5 separate regions of the Homo sapiens genome follow, and all the other regions are linked to region 5. Evidence: promoter capture Hi-C in human tissues and cell types (Jung and others, 2019). All regions are on one chromosome and are shown on one strand. Each heading gives the region's core, a stretch centred on a gene start or on the middle of the fragment in contact. The rest is flanking DNA. Distances are from core to core; before and after follow the strand shown. Region 1 overlaps HLCS (holocarboxylase synthetase). Region 2 overlaps HLCS (holocarboxylase synthetase). Region 3 has its middle 83 kb from the start of CLDN14. Region 4 overlaps HLCS (holocarboxylase synthetase). Region 5 holds the start of SIM2 (SIM bHLH transcription factor 2).

Evidence for each region. The method cuts DNA at HindIII sites, captures the fragments that hold promoters and counts their contacts. A contact is called where the count stands out against the background at its distance.
Region 1: a contact is called between a fragment that was not itself captured here and the fragment with the promoter of SIM2 in region 5, in 2 of the 25 tissues and cell types used here (liver and lymphoblastoid cells).
Region 2: a contact is called between a fragment that was not itself captured here and the fragment with the promoter of SIM2 in region 5, in 3 of the 25 tissues and cell types used here (heart left ventricle, lymphoblastoid cells and mesendoderm cells).
Region 3: a fragment that was not itself captured here is called in contact with the fragment with the promoter of SIM2 in region 5 in 3 of the 25 tissues and cell types used here (IMR-90 fibroblasts, bladder and spleen).
Region 4: a fragment that was not itself captured here is called in contact with the fragment with the promoter of SIM2 in region 5 in 2 of the 25 tissues and cell types used here (dorsolateral prefrontal cortex and mesendoderm cells).

Annotation. Positions count from the first base shown.
Region 1 is chr21:36,830,743-36,833,480 of GRCh38, reverse strand. All of the region lies in intron 6 of HLCS (holocarboxylase synthetase), which reads left to right. Among named protein-coding and RNA genes, the nearest start is that of SIM2, 130 kb to the right of the region's middle. The HindIII fragment of the contact is 5,234 bases long and covers 1-2,738 here.
Region 2 is chr21:36,882,737-36,885,442 of GRCh38, reverse strand. The region is part of intron 6 of HLCS (holocarboxylase synthetase); the gene reads left to right. Among named protein-coding and RNA genes, the nearest start is that of HLCS-AS1, 82 kb to the left of the region's middle. The HindIII fragment of the contact is 3,396 bases long and covers 1-2,706 here.
Region 3 is chr21:36,562,235-36,564,934 of GRCh38, reverse strand. It overlaps a transcript of CLDN14 not described here. Among named protein-coding and RNA genes, the nearest start is that of CLDN14, 83 kb to the right of the region's middle. The HindIII fragment of the contact is 4,931 bases long and covers 1-2,700 here.
Region 4 is chr21:36,904,606-36,907,305 of GRCh38, reverse strand. All of the region lies in intron 5 of HLCS (holocarboxylase synthetase), which reads left to right. Among named protein-coding and RNA genes, the nearest start is that of HLCS-AS1, 61 kb to the left of the region's middle. The HindIII fragment of the contact is 8,102 bases long and covers 1-2,700 here.
Region 5 is chr21:36,697,809-36,700,508 of GRCh38, reverse strand. It overlaps SIM2 (SIM bHLH transcription factor 2), which reads right to left and starts at 1,394. Exons shown (of 11, transcript NM_005069.6): 1 at 588-1,394. The coding sequence starts at 762. It overlaps LOC105369308 (a long non-coding RNA gene), which reads left to right and starts at 1,518. Exons shown (of 3, transcript NR_188246.1): 1 at 1,518-1,600. RefSeq lists an enhancer at 1-167. The HindIII fragment of the contact is 19,577 bases long and covers 1-2,700 here.

The DNA of each region.
Region 1 (2,738 bases), core at 237-2,736, 130 kb before region 5:
CCCGAGTAGCTGGGATTACAGGTGCATGCCACTACATCTGGCTTATTTTTGTATTTTTATTAGTGGCAGGGCTTCACCATGTTGGCCAGGCTGGTCTTGAACTCCTGACCTCAAGTGATCCACCCACCTTGGCCTCCCAAAGTGCTGAGATTACAGGTGTGAGCCATTGCACCCGGCCAATCCTAGCACTTTGGGAGGCCTAGGTAGGAGGATCACTTGAGCCCAGGAGTTCAAGAACCAGCCTGGGCAACAAAGTGAGACCTCATCTCTACTAAAATTAAAAAAAAAAAAATTTAGCTAGGCATGGTGGCATGTGCCTGTAGTCCCAGCAGGTTGGGAAGCTGAGCTGGGAGGATCACTTGAGCCTGGGAAGTCAAGGCTGCTATGGACTGATTGTGCCACTGTACACCAGCCTGGGTGACCTTGCCTAAAAAAAAAAAATGGTCTTCTATTTTTGGGTGCTGTGTGGCCTCTGTCTCATGGTATTCCCTTCCTTTGCCCTTCTAGAAGCTGGAAAATAAGGAACAAGCTCTTCATTCTCCTTAGTTGTCTAAGCAGTGGAACCAAAAGTGTGGTGCTAGAGAAGGCAGCTGTGCATCTGAGGCTCCTTACAACCCTTTGAAGGTTCAGGCTGTGATGAGGGCTGCCTTTGGAGGGAACATCCTTTTTTGTACCTACCTTCAAGGACACATTTTACTGACTCTTGAATTAGCATGATATTGCTAAATGAGAGAAAGTAATTCCAAGATCATGTTTTAAAGAAAACAGTGAACAAAGAGTTAGGGAATGGCCTCCCATGTCAGAGCTGAGGCTTTGCCTTGGACTAGCTGTGTGACTTTGGGCAAGTCACTTAACCTTTCTATGCCTTATTTTCCCTATCTGTAAAGTGAAGATACTGTGAGTGTCATTGTTGTGAGTATTAAATGAGCAATGGCTGTAAAGTGAACAGAACTGTGTCTGGCATGTGCTAATCTAGCCTAGACTGTGAGTGAGGTCGGGAAGCTGGAGCCCTCTTGTACTTTACTGTTTCATTGCTCACCAGCTCCCTTCCAACCCTTAACTGAGTCTCATGTTAAAGAGAAAAGCTTCAGAGTTGTGTGATCTATATTAGAATCTTCATCGAGATTCTCTGTGCTGTGTAATTTCACCTGCTGAGATTCTGGCTATGTGCATAGTCAGGGAAATCTTTGTCTTCCTTTTCTTTCCATCCTCTTCCTCCTCATCAGCCATCTCTTCTACCTTTTTGCCCTTTCGTTAGGTTATAACTTGGAGCACATACAGCCAGAGGACACTTGCCCAGTAATAGGACAGAGGAGAGGCGCCGAGGCATATCTAGCCGCAACCCACCCGGCTGGCCTTAAAGGACCAGGCCTTCAGTATCTAATTGAACCTAAATGCCAATTTATGTGCAAGAACACATCCTTCAGGGAACTGAAAGGATTTTTTTTCCCCTTCCACCGTGGTGATGGAAAGGCTGAAAATCTGAGCTGTGAAAGCTTAGCTGTGCCCTGTGTCCTGGGCTCCTTGTCTTGTGTCTAATCAATGATCTCGATGCTATTAGCTCAGGGCAGGTCATTAGGGAGCATTTCTAGCGAAATTGCTCAGAGCCAGTGATTTAGAACCAGTTCTGAAACTGAAATATAGGAAATTGTATTTAAAAAAAATTTTAAATATATTCCCTTCTACTCATAAAGGAGACCTAACCCTAAACCACTCCATACCTAAATAGAATATTTTGTTTCCAGATGACATAGCTGCTGTGATACAATAACTTTATTTTGATTGATTTATTGTTTTAGAGTTGGAGTCTTGCTCTGTTGCCCAGGCTGAAGTGCAGTGGCATGATCTTGGCTCACTGCAACCTCCACCTCCCAGGTTCAAGTGATTCTCCTACCTCAGCCTCCTGAGTAGCTGGGACTACAGGTGCATGCCACCACACCTGGCTAATGTTTTTTGTATTTTTAGTAGAGACAGGGTTTCACCATGTTGGCCAGGCTGGTCTCGAACTCCTGACCTGTAGTGATCTGCCCACCTCGCCCTCCCAAAGTGCTGAGATTACAGGTGTGAGCCACCATGCCGGCCCAGTAACTTTATTTCTATATTCTGAGACATGTAATTTATTTCCTTCCCTTTGGCTACCCTCAAAGATTTCTATGTCTTCCCACTTCCTTGAACACTTTCAAGAGAGCTTTAAAGAAACGTTTTGCATAACTTGTCATGTCCTTATTTAGCCATATGAGAGAGTTAATTGTAATCAGGAGAACCCTACATCTCTTATTTGATTTAATATCAGGAAACAATGTTAAAAAAAATAGATTGGAGCTTCTACTTGAATAAGGCCATGGGATCACGTGTTGAGTTTATCTTCTCCCCTTCTTAAAACCCTCCGAAAAGATTATACAAAACTAATAGTTAAACATCTACAACATCAAAGGAAATAAAGGTGGTTATCAGCAGATAAGATTTAAACCGAATTTGGGGAGATGAAAAGCAGGTGGAGGATGACAATGATGAAGCTGCCTTAGGGTGATTCCTCCCTTTAAAGAAATGGAATGGCTTTCTGGGGATAACTAGGGTAGATACCTCAGAGTAAAAGCCTCCTCATCCTGGATGTAGGGATCACCTGTGTCTACCCTTTTTTTTTTTTTTTTTTTTTTTTGAGAGAGGGTCTCACTCTGTTGCCCAGGCTGGAGTACAGTGGCATCATCATGGCTCACTGCAGCCTCAACTTCCAGGGG
Region 2 (2,706 bases), core at 45-2,544, 190 kb before region 5:
TCAACTTCCTGGGCCCAAGTGATCCTCCCACCTCAGCGTCCCGAGTAGCTGGGACCACAGGCGTGAGCCACCATGCCTGGATAATTTTTAAATTTTTTGTAGAGACAGGGGTCCCACTATGTTACCCAGGTTGGCCTTGAACTGTTGAATTTAAGCGATCCTCCCACCTTGGCCTCCCAAAGTGCTGGGATTATAGGCATGAGCCACCGTGCCTGGTGTGGTAGGTGTTTTCTTGGAATGGAGTTTTTGTTTGAAGATTTCGACAGTTTTTTTCTCATACTAGAACCAATTGTTTGTTGCTGGTTACTGTTGTGCCAAAAATATTTTAGTCCAACTTTTTTTGAAAGATGAGAAAACATAGTCAGTTGTCCATGTTTGTGTTTCTCTTATATGTGAAGCAAGTCTCTTTTTCATTGAACCTTCTCTTTTTTTGAAATCTTAACCCTTTAGTTATCATTTTCACAGGTAATTCACAGTCATTTCAAAAGAGCCAAATCTGCAGTGGTTTGAACATTTTCGCAGTCCCTTGGATATGCCTTGTGCATCACCCACACCTTCCTGAGACCCCTGAACCTTCCATGACAGTCAGAAACACGTGCACCTGACATTACTACATTCTCTTTAAGCTCTAAAAAAAACCCCAGATGTTTATTACTCTGCAGAATTGCTTGATTGTAACTACATTTAATATTCATTTTGTCAAATGCCTCTGTTTTATTTAAACAAGCAATAAAAGACCACAAAAGGTAATAAGGCAAGGTTTAGGGTTAGAAAAGATAATCAATAAAGAGGGTGACAGGGACTTCTCTATGCTCTTTTCCCCCCAGTTCAGGTTTACCTTAGAGAAAAATCCAAATGTGTTGATTTTAGTTTAGTAGTGAGCTGAATCTGCTGAGGGTTGGAACTGCTTCCACTCTAGTCTTTAGATTGTAAAGGAGTTATTCTTTAGCAGAAGGGCCAAAGACATGACCTTGGAATAACCAGCCTGAGTTTATTAGAAGTCTGGTTTCCCACTGGGCAAGGCTGCATGGGATGCTGAAAGCAGGGCAGGCTCTGGAGCTTCATTGGCTACTGGCCTGGGGCAAATTCCATGACATCTCATCTTAAAATGGACAAGCTGCAATAATGCCCACTCATGGTAATGCCATTTGTAGGAGATTGGTAAGGGTGGTGGGAAAAATTGCAGAAGATGCAAACCTTCTTGGAAGGCTGGAAGGTTTTACAAAAGCTTCGGAAAAGGATTTGGCTGAAGGCAGCCAGATTCTTTTATCTGGTGCCTGAAAGCTTACGTTAGATAACAAGGGGATATAAATAAACTGATCTAGGTAAGTTAGTTTACTTAGGCCTTGGAACCTCGCCCTTAAGCATCCACGCACAGAACTACTCTCTCCGGGTCTGGGTGACCATGTGAATTGCCCACAAATGTGTTGACTCAAGGCCTTTGTCATTAAATCTATACTGAATAAATGCCCACAGTGCCGGCTTTTCGGGGCTGTGGCTGCTGACTCATTACAGCACCCTCCTTGGTGTCTGTGGGTGGCCGGGTCCCCTAGCCTGCTCTTTCACTGGATTCTTGTGTCTGAGTGCATTTGTTCATCCGTTGTTCAGCCATGGTCTGCGGGTCGGACCTGGCAGCCATTCATGTGGGGAAGGTCAGAGCAGGTGGTGCTGTGGAAAGCCCATTGCATAGTCTCTGACACGGAGTGGGGTGGCCACCAAGAGTTGGTTTAATCTCCTCTTCAGCTACCAAGGAAGACAGGTGCTTTCCCCACACAGCGCTGCTGATAGCCACCGACAGTGGAAACTGCAAATAAAACCTGAGCATATGTTTCAAGATTCTGATGCAGTAAGAAATCTATGATAAGAAAGCAGCATTGCCCAAACTTGGATTATGATTTAACAGTAGTTTCTAAGTAGAAACTTTTTTAGATATTCTTAGACGTTAGTGTTCATGATTGAGGTCTGACCAGTCACCTGGACACATGGGGTGTGCAGATAGAGGTTGAGTTCCGGCTTAAAAATATGTTTTAGTCAAAATCTGTCAATGTTTAAAATAAATGTGCCAGTTATCCCAGCAGGTATTTTTCCTCCTACTTGTTAGGCATCCCTCTCTTCCATTTCTTTTTCTCCCCTGACTTAGCTTTGTGGCTTATTTAGAGGGAACTTTTGTTTTTCTTTCAAATAAAACAGTTACCTGCTTTGGAGGTGAGAGTTGATTTGCTTTCACCTGCCCCTTTAAAATCTTTTACACACCTACCATTTGGCAAAACACCTTCTGAGCTCTGAAATACCTTTGTTGTTTCTGCTTTTTGTTTTGGAGAGAAGCATGTTCTGTTTCTGCATGAGGGGTATTCCGTCACTGTGAGATCCCAAACGCCACATTTTTTCTGCATTGCACAAGGAGTCATTCATCATTTTCATTTTTTGTTTGGCTCTCCCATAAGAGTATTCAAATTAGTGAGAAGGAAACGATGAAGTCATTGCCTGGCGGAGAAGGATTTTCCCTGGTTGTGGAAGGGCAAGGAGATGAGAAGGAGGAATGATGGGGAAGTCTGTACCTGCCTCTTTCTTTGCCCTTTGGTTCCAGAGGTCACCTTGATGCTAATAGAGTTTTCAGTTTAAAATTGGGTAATATGTGCATACAGAATTTACCTAAAAATGAAATACAAAAACCTCAGACTGGGCCGGGCACGGTGGCTCACACCT
Region 3 (2,700 bases), core at 179-2,678, 140 kb after region 5:
GTCTTTTCCAGCTTCTAAAGGCCACCTGCATTCCTTGGCTTGTGGCCCCTTTCTCCACCTTCAAAGTGAGCAACAGGTGGTCAAGTCTTTCTCACTCACATCACACTGGCTCTGACTTTCTGCCTCTCTCCTTCACATTTAAGAACCCTTGGTACTACATTGGGCTCACCTGATAATCTCCTTATTCTGAAGTCACCTGGTTAGCAACCTTAATTCCCTCTGCAACCTTCACTGCCCTTGCATGTAACATAACATACTCATGGGTTCTGGAGATGAGGGCATGGGCGTCTTTGGTGGGAAATTATTTTACAACCACAGCCATACACATCACCTGAGGTCTCTGGTGAAACGCCCTGGAATTGACTCTAGAATTACATCTAGGAGGTTGCTCACCAAAGAGACTCAATCCCAGCCCCTTCTCTCAGTGTCAGCCAAGGCTGTCCTCCAGGGGCGAAACCACACCTGTTCTAGATACTGGAAATGGGTTTTACTGGTGGTTCTGTCATCTTAAGGATCCAAATCAGAGGTGTTAATGGAAGGCAACTCCATCCCAACTCTTCACACTTTTCATCCCTAATTGATGGCTTTTGTTGGCTTAGCGATAGCTGGTAGTTTTCTCTGGTGCCTACACCCTTGCACATAAATTTAAGTAGGGCACCTGGTGATTACACCTAAGTTAGGAAAACAGGCATCCTTCTTGACACATATTCTTGACACATGCCAGATTTCTATGGAAAATTTATATAACACTGCAAGAAAAGGCTAATTTTGCTGACAAACACTGAGCCGAGCTCCTGGTTTGATGTCAGGTTTAGCTCTCAGGGAGCCACATTTGCCACCTGCCTCATCTTCGGCATTTCTCAGAACTCCACAGAACGAGGGTGCAGCCCAGGACTGGGGAGTAGGGCGGCCAGATTTAAGGCATGTGAACTTTCAGGTCATCGAATACACTTTCCCATTAGGGAAGGGGCACGTTTCCTTAAGAGTTTGGGGGATCAGAACTGAATCCACGTCTGTCTTTTTGATAACATAATTCAAATATGGCGTAATGGCGCCTGGGGGAGAGGGAGTGAATTTGAGGATTATTAGTTTCACTGCTCTGGAATAGGTCCCAGAGGAGACCACGCAGAGACCTTGCCCAACAAATTGCTGGACCTCTTTTTGCTGAGCCCTGTCTGCCAAAAGGCTCCACGTGTCTTTCGCATCTCCACTATCCCCACCATGAGGTCTCTTCCCACAGTCTCCGAACCTCCATGGGAGCCAACATTTTCTAATAATCGTTTCCTACATAAAATCAACAAGGGGAAAAATTCCTCTTTAAGCACATGTCTAGATGATTCCATTTCTCTTTGACAGAGAATTATCAGTGACGGCCCTATGGCTCATAAGACTGTAAGGATTGTAAACCTCTGATTAATGGAGTAAGACAGATTGTTGTTATTCACGGAATTCAATATCCTAACCTCAGACCCATGTTTACAGCACATTGACTTGCAACTTTGAAAAAAGCCCTGCTTTTTTTTTTTCTCCAACATGTTTAGTTATTAACAGAGAGCGCTACGGTAAGGAAACCAGGCCAACATATCCAGTTGGGTAGCCTAAACCAGAATATGCACTGTATGTAGTGATTTAGGATTTAAAACCCCAATAATGCACGGAGATGCTATGACTCCAATCTTTTTCCCATATTACCTGCAACTTGTTCTAGATGAAACCCTTCAAAGCCCTCCGTGATTAACTTTTCAAAACAGTGTCATGCATTTTCTTGTTCTCTAAGCAGCAGAGAATGTAGCCCATGCATCTCAGGCTGCTATCATTAATTTTTTTCCTTTCCTTCTTTTACTTTTAAGTTAGTGATTAAAACACAGAGGTCTTCATGAAATATGACTCCCCTGAAGAATGATAACATTTCATTCTGCATTTTTGCAGCACCCAAGTTCATGTTTAGATGAAGGTGACCACTTTCATTTCCATCATCTTGTTATGGCTTCGAAATCATGCCATATTATTATTTGCCCCATTTTGCAGAGGAGCCAGATGAAGAACAGAATGAATAACTTACCCCAAATTACCCATGAAGCCAGGGTTATTAGAATTCCCAGGCCAGTGGGCTCACCACAAAACTACACCGCTTGACTGTGCTGAGAACCAGCCAAGTCTCCATCCCAGATGATCACTGCCTATTCCCCAGGCGGGAAAGAGGCCAGATGTAATTTGCTCATGAAAAAAAAAAAAAAGCACAGAATGGATAGGGGATCCTTTGAATATTTTAAAGATAAGGGTGAACGCATTTCTTTAGAGATTATTAAAAATTAATTTTTAAAGCAAAACTGATGGGAAAATCATAAACACAAGATGACACATGGGTTGGAAGCGATCAACTCTGGAGACTTGGTGGGGCTTTTCCTTAGAGAAGAAAATAGGTCCTTTTCCTCAGGAATATTTCAGAAGAGGTCTTGTTATGGTTTAAGAGCCAGAAAATGGGAATAAGCTTAGTACTTAGCTGAAGAATGAGCTGGGTGCAGAATTACAAAGTGGATGTCCCATGTGTTTCCTGTTTCCTCTTGGTGCCCATCTCTTGGCTGTAGCCTACTTCCTGCCCTTGGGTCCCTCCTGGTGACTCAAATCTGCCAAAGAGGGTCTGAGATGCAGGCTCATGAAGCCCCATAGAAAGCCATACCCTGCCAGATTTCCCACCCT
Region 4 (2,700 bases), core at 16-2,515, 210 kb before region 5:
TTTCCTTTTATGGTTCATGCTTATTTTGTTCCATCTGAAAAAAACTTTACCTACCCAAAGTCAGAAAGGTTTTCTCCTGTATTTTATTTTAGAAGGTTTGTAGTTTTACATTTAGGTCTATGATTTATTTCAAGTTAATTTTTATATACATGTGAGATAGAGATCAAGGTTTCATATTCTTGCATATGAATGTTTGTTTCAGCACCATGTATTGCAAAGATTATCATTTTTCAAGTCAGTTATCTTGGGCACTGTTGTCAAAAATCAATCAAACAGGCCAAGGTGGGAGGTTGGCTTGAGCTCAGGAATTTGAGGCTGCAGTGAGCTGTAATCACACCACTGCACTCCCCACTGGGTGGTAGCGCAAGACGCTGTCTCAAAAAAATTAAAAAAAATCAATCACACTTATATGTTTGGCCCTATTTCTGTACCCTATTCTGTGCCAGTAATCTATACCTATCTCTGTGTGCCAATACCACACCGTCTTGATATACTGCAACTTTATAGTAAGTCTTGAAAGCAGATAATGTAGGTTTTCCAACTTTTTGTTCCTTCCCAAAATTGTTTTGACCATTTAAAATAGTTTCTATTTTCAGCTTGTTAATTTCTACAAAAAAAAAAAAAAAAAGCCTTCTGGGATTTTGACTGGGATTACATTGAACCCATAGATTAATTTGAAGAATTGACATCTTAACAGTGTTAGTCTTCTGATCCATGAACATGGTGTATCTTTTCAGTTATTTACAGCCTCTTTAATTTTCTTTTTGTGTTTTTGAGATGGGGTCTCGCTCTGTCGCTTAGACTGGAGTGCAGTGGTGCCATCATGGCTTGTTGCAGCCTAGCTCCTGGGCTCAAGTGATCCTCTCACCTCAGCCTCCTGACTAGCTGGGACTACAGGTGCATGCCACCACACCCAGCTAATTAAAGAAAAACTCTTTTTTTTAGACATGAGGTCTTTCCATGTTGCCCAAGCTGGTGTCAAATTCCTGGGCTCAAGTGATCCTCCATACTCAGCCTTCCAAAGTGCTGGGATTACGAGTATGAGTTATGATGCTCAGACATCTTTAATTTTTAATTCAGGAGTGTTTTGTAGTTTTCAGTAAACAGGTCTGGCACATATTTTGTTAAATATGTCCCTAAATATTTCAGATCTATTGATGCCATTAAAATGATATTTTAAAGAAGTTCAGGCTCCAAATATTTATTGTTAGTATATGGAAATGCACCCAATTTTTGTTTTGTTTTTTTTTTTTTTTGAGATGGAGTCTCACTCTGTTGCCCAGCCTGGAGTGCAATGGTACAATCTTAGGTCACTGCAACCTCTGCCTCCCAGGTTCAAGTGATTCTCGTGTCTCAGCCTCCCAAGTACCTGAGATTATAGGTGTGTGCCACCACACCCGGCTAATTTTGTATTTTTGTAGAAGTGGGGTTTCACCATGTTGGCCAGGCTGGTCTTGAACTCCTGACCTCAAGTGATCCACCCACTTTGGCCTCCCAAAGGGCTGGGATTACAGACGTGAGCCACTGTGCCCAGCCAATTTTTGTATATTGACCTTGTATCCCACAACCTTGCTAAACTCACTTATTAGTTCTATTTTTTTTTTTAAGATTCCTTTGGATTTTCATGTCCTGTGCAACATGACCCAATAAAAGACAAAGAATATATTCACCTTTCTTGAGAATGACTGGTGCTGTGGCTGATTTAAAAGGGCCACATTTATGTGACTATAAAGCATTCAGCTGTTGGTTCCACCCAAATCATATTTAATTAACCTGAAATCCTAGAAGAAGAGAAATACTAAATTCTTGAAGATTAAATGTTAGAAAAATAACATTAATTAGAATTTTATAAACCCCCTTGAAGTGGAATCTGATAGTGGTTGTTTGTTGTCAATAGAACTAGCTGTAATGATTTCAAAGACTGTGCATTATTTTTGATGCTTACGTAGCCATCTCAAGACCATACTCTCTCATTGTCTTTTTTGAGTTTTACCTCTTGATTACCTATCTATCTGTTATTTGGAGAGTTTTCCTTGGTAAGGTTTTAATGTGCATTTATACAGTAAATGCTTATTAAGCATGCACTTTTGTCCTAGGTTCCATGGATACCGTTGGGAGCAAAACAGGAACATATGTATATTATCTTTATGGAACTTATATTCTAATAAGACAGTGTGGCATTGAATAAGCACTTATACAAATTATGTATAGTCGTGATAAGTGCTATAAAGTAACTAAGGGTTTACGAAAGTTTGTGAACGGCTGTGGGTCAGAGACATCCTCCCTATAGAAGTGACGTTTTAGCTATCCTCTGATAGTTGAGTTCAAAGAAATAGGTGCATTTGCGTATTGCAGAGTGGGTAGTGCTACTTATATGTCAGCCCACTTGTCTTGATGTCTATGATCCAAACCTTTTTTCTTCAGTAACATTTTTACATTGCATGGTCATTAGGAGAGTTTAGGCAAGAGTCATGAATTAATTCCTTTTCCCTACATGTATTATTAGCAGCTGTATATGCAACTCTCAAGTCATAATCATAATTTGAGTGCATTTGAGAAGACATGCCAGGCAGATTTATATCAAACAGATAGTAATTTTGGTATTTCTTACAACCAGAATTTTATTCAGAATTTTTATGTTGTCCAGGGTTAATGGTGGAGCGGGGAGAAAGTTTTGGGGGAGGCTAAATGCTTCCTATG
Region 5 (2,700 bases), core at 145-2,644:
AAGGAAGGGATGGGGAAAGAAAGAAAGCAAAACCAGAGTGAACTTCCAAAGAAAGGAAGGAAAGCAGAAAAGGAAAGAAAACAAACCAATGCATTGGCAAAGGAAGGAAGGAAGGAGGGAGGGAGAGAGGGGGCCAAGGAAGGAAGGAAGGGGAGAATGAAAGAAAGAGGAAGAAAGAAAGAAAAAGAAAGAGAAAGAAAGAAAGAAAGGAAAGAAAGAGAGAAAAAAATCCAAACCAAACCAGAATGCACTGGCGAAGGAAGGAAGGAGGAAAGGGAGAAAGAACAAAACCAGAAAGAACTCGCTGGCCGTGCGGGCTGGGGGACTGCCTGCCCCTGGAACAATTCGTAATTCGCCCTCACCCAGCCCTGGACCAGGAGAGGGTTTGGTCGCCTGGGCCGCCAAGGCCCTGGCCCCTCGCCCCAAGCCAGCGCCGAAGCCGAAGACCCTCACGCAACCTCCCTCAGACGCCCCAGCTCTGGACGCCAGGCCGCGGCAACCCCTCTGGGCGGGCTGGCTTGCGCTTCCCGCCTGGGCCGGGGCCGCCGGGCTCCCCAGCGTCCCCGGCCGCCCACCTGAGGCCTCACCTTCGGGGAAGACGGCGCGCATCTTCAGGTAGCTCGTGGTGAGGCGGATGATGGACGCTTTGTCCAGCTGCGAAGTGATGGCCGACGGCAGCGGGAGCAGCTTGGCAAGCTCGTAAAACTCGCCATTTTCCTTCTCCCTCCTGGTCTTGGCCGCATTCTTGGACTTCTCCTTCATCGCGCCTCGGCTCCGGGCATATTAGACCCGGCCGTGCTCCAGGCCCGCGGAGCCCCGCTCGGGCTGCGGCGGCGGGGATGGGGAAGGGGGAGCCGGGAGCCAGGTGAGTCCGCGGAGTGGGCCGCGGGCAGGTGCGGGGGGCCTCCCGGGGTTCCGAGACGCCTCCCCGCAGCCGCCGGGCCTGAGCTCCGAGCAACCCGGCGGCGCCGCCCGCCGCTGCCCGGAGCGCAGCCTCCTCCGGGCTGGACCGTCCTGCAGCAACCGGAGCCCCGTTCCTGCTCGCTCCTGTTTCCTCCCTCCTGCCTCTCCTGCCTCGGCCTTCCTGGGGGGTGGGGGCGGCCGGCGCGGAGGCGGAGGCGCTGCTTACTCCTTCGTCGAGTGCTCGAACCGGCTGCGGCAAGGCCCCTCCGGACCGGAGGGCGACAGGGGCGGCGGTGGCCGCGGAGCCATGGAGCGGGAGCCCAGCGGAGGGGAGCGAGTCGCAGGCGGCTGGGGCCGGGCCCTGGCCCGGGCGCGCTCTCCTGCCCTTCCTGGCGGCTCCCTGTGCCTGGAGACGCAGCGCCGGAGCCCGCGATGTGTGGCTAGGCGCAGCACCTCCGCTGTCCACGTGCGGCCGAGCCGCGTTTGTTTATGGCAGACCCGCCTTCGGGCGGAGCACTGGCCGCCTGGGTCCCGGAGGGGGGAGCGGGAGGGGGGAGGGACCGCGGCGGGGGCGGGGGCGGCGAATCTTGCCTCCGACCCCGCCGCGGCCCTGGAGTCACAGGCGCGCCTCCGCGTCGCTGCCTCCAGGGACTCTCCCGGGAGAGACCCGCGCGCTCCCGGGTTCGGGGAAGTCGCGGTGAGTGCACACGGCGCGCCGCGGGGACCCGCTCCTGAGCGCCGGTCGCCGGACCCCGGAGCTAGGATGGGCGGCAGGGAGGGCGAGGGAAGGAGGGGTGCCGAGGCCGCCCCTGTGGCTCTCGGGAAGGTCACCAGCAGGCGCGGCCGAGAGGAGGCGGCGCGACTCGTTGGCCAGGCGCCCTGCCGGGGAGGATCGAGCCTTCCGAGGGTGCGCTGGTCCCGCGTCCTCGCCCTCCCGGTGTTGCAGGTCCAAGAGCTGAAAAGGGGAAAGCCGGGAGCCCCCCTCCCCCCATTACACACACACGTGAAAACGGCGCGAGTGGCTCCGAAGTGACCCTTCTGCCCTTTCTGTCCTCGAAACACTAAGGTGCAAAGAGATTGTCGCCTTCTCAGGAGGAGCGGGAGGCCGCAGGGGCGCTCAGGCCAGGGGAAGGGAGGGGCCAGGGAGCCCAGCCGAGTGGTGAGGCCTCTCCCAGGGCGCCGGCGGAAACAGGGCCCAACTGCCGGGGCGGCGGCAAAAGCAGCCCGATTCAGCGCAGCCGGAATTTTGAGGAATCGGCGTTGGGCGATTAAGGGCCAAGGTCGCTGAGCCAGGGTCACAGGGTGGGCGCAGGTGGCGCAGGTGGGGCCCATGGTGATGGGGCAGAAGGCAATTGGAGAAAGAAGACTCCGTTGCAGACGCGGCCACTGGGCATTCTGGACTCTCCTTCAGGGTCATTTTGGACCTAAAGAGTCCTTTTGTCCCCCCTCTGCCCTCCCCTGTCCGGCTCCCGCAGCCTGGAAATGGGTGTGCGGCCCAGGAGTCCTCCGCGCACCCCTGCAGCGGCGGTCACATAACCCCACCTCTTCCAGGAGTGCAGCTTTCCCGGCCCCCCAGGCCAGAGACAGGCTCAGAGGACGCAGGGCAATTCCTTACCTTGGCGTCGAGATCATGTGGGGACTCTCGGCCGTGTGCCACAGGCTGCAGAGCCGTGGAGCAGTGGGGTGCGTGACCTGGAGGTCAGCAGGGGCCGGGAGGACACCGGGCCGCGGATGGGGGCGCGGAGATTTGGGTTCTCGGTGTCACTGCTCTCGCCACTGGCCCGGGATCATGAGCCT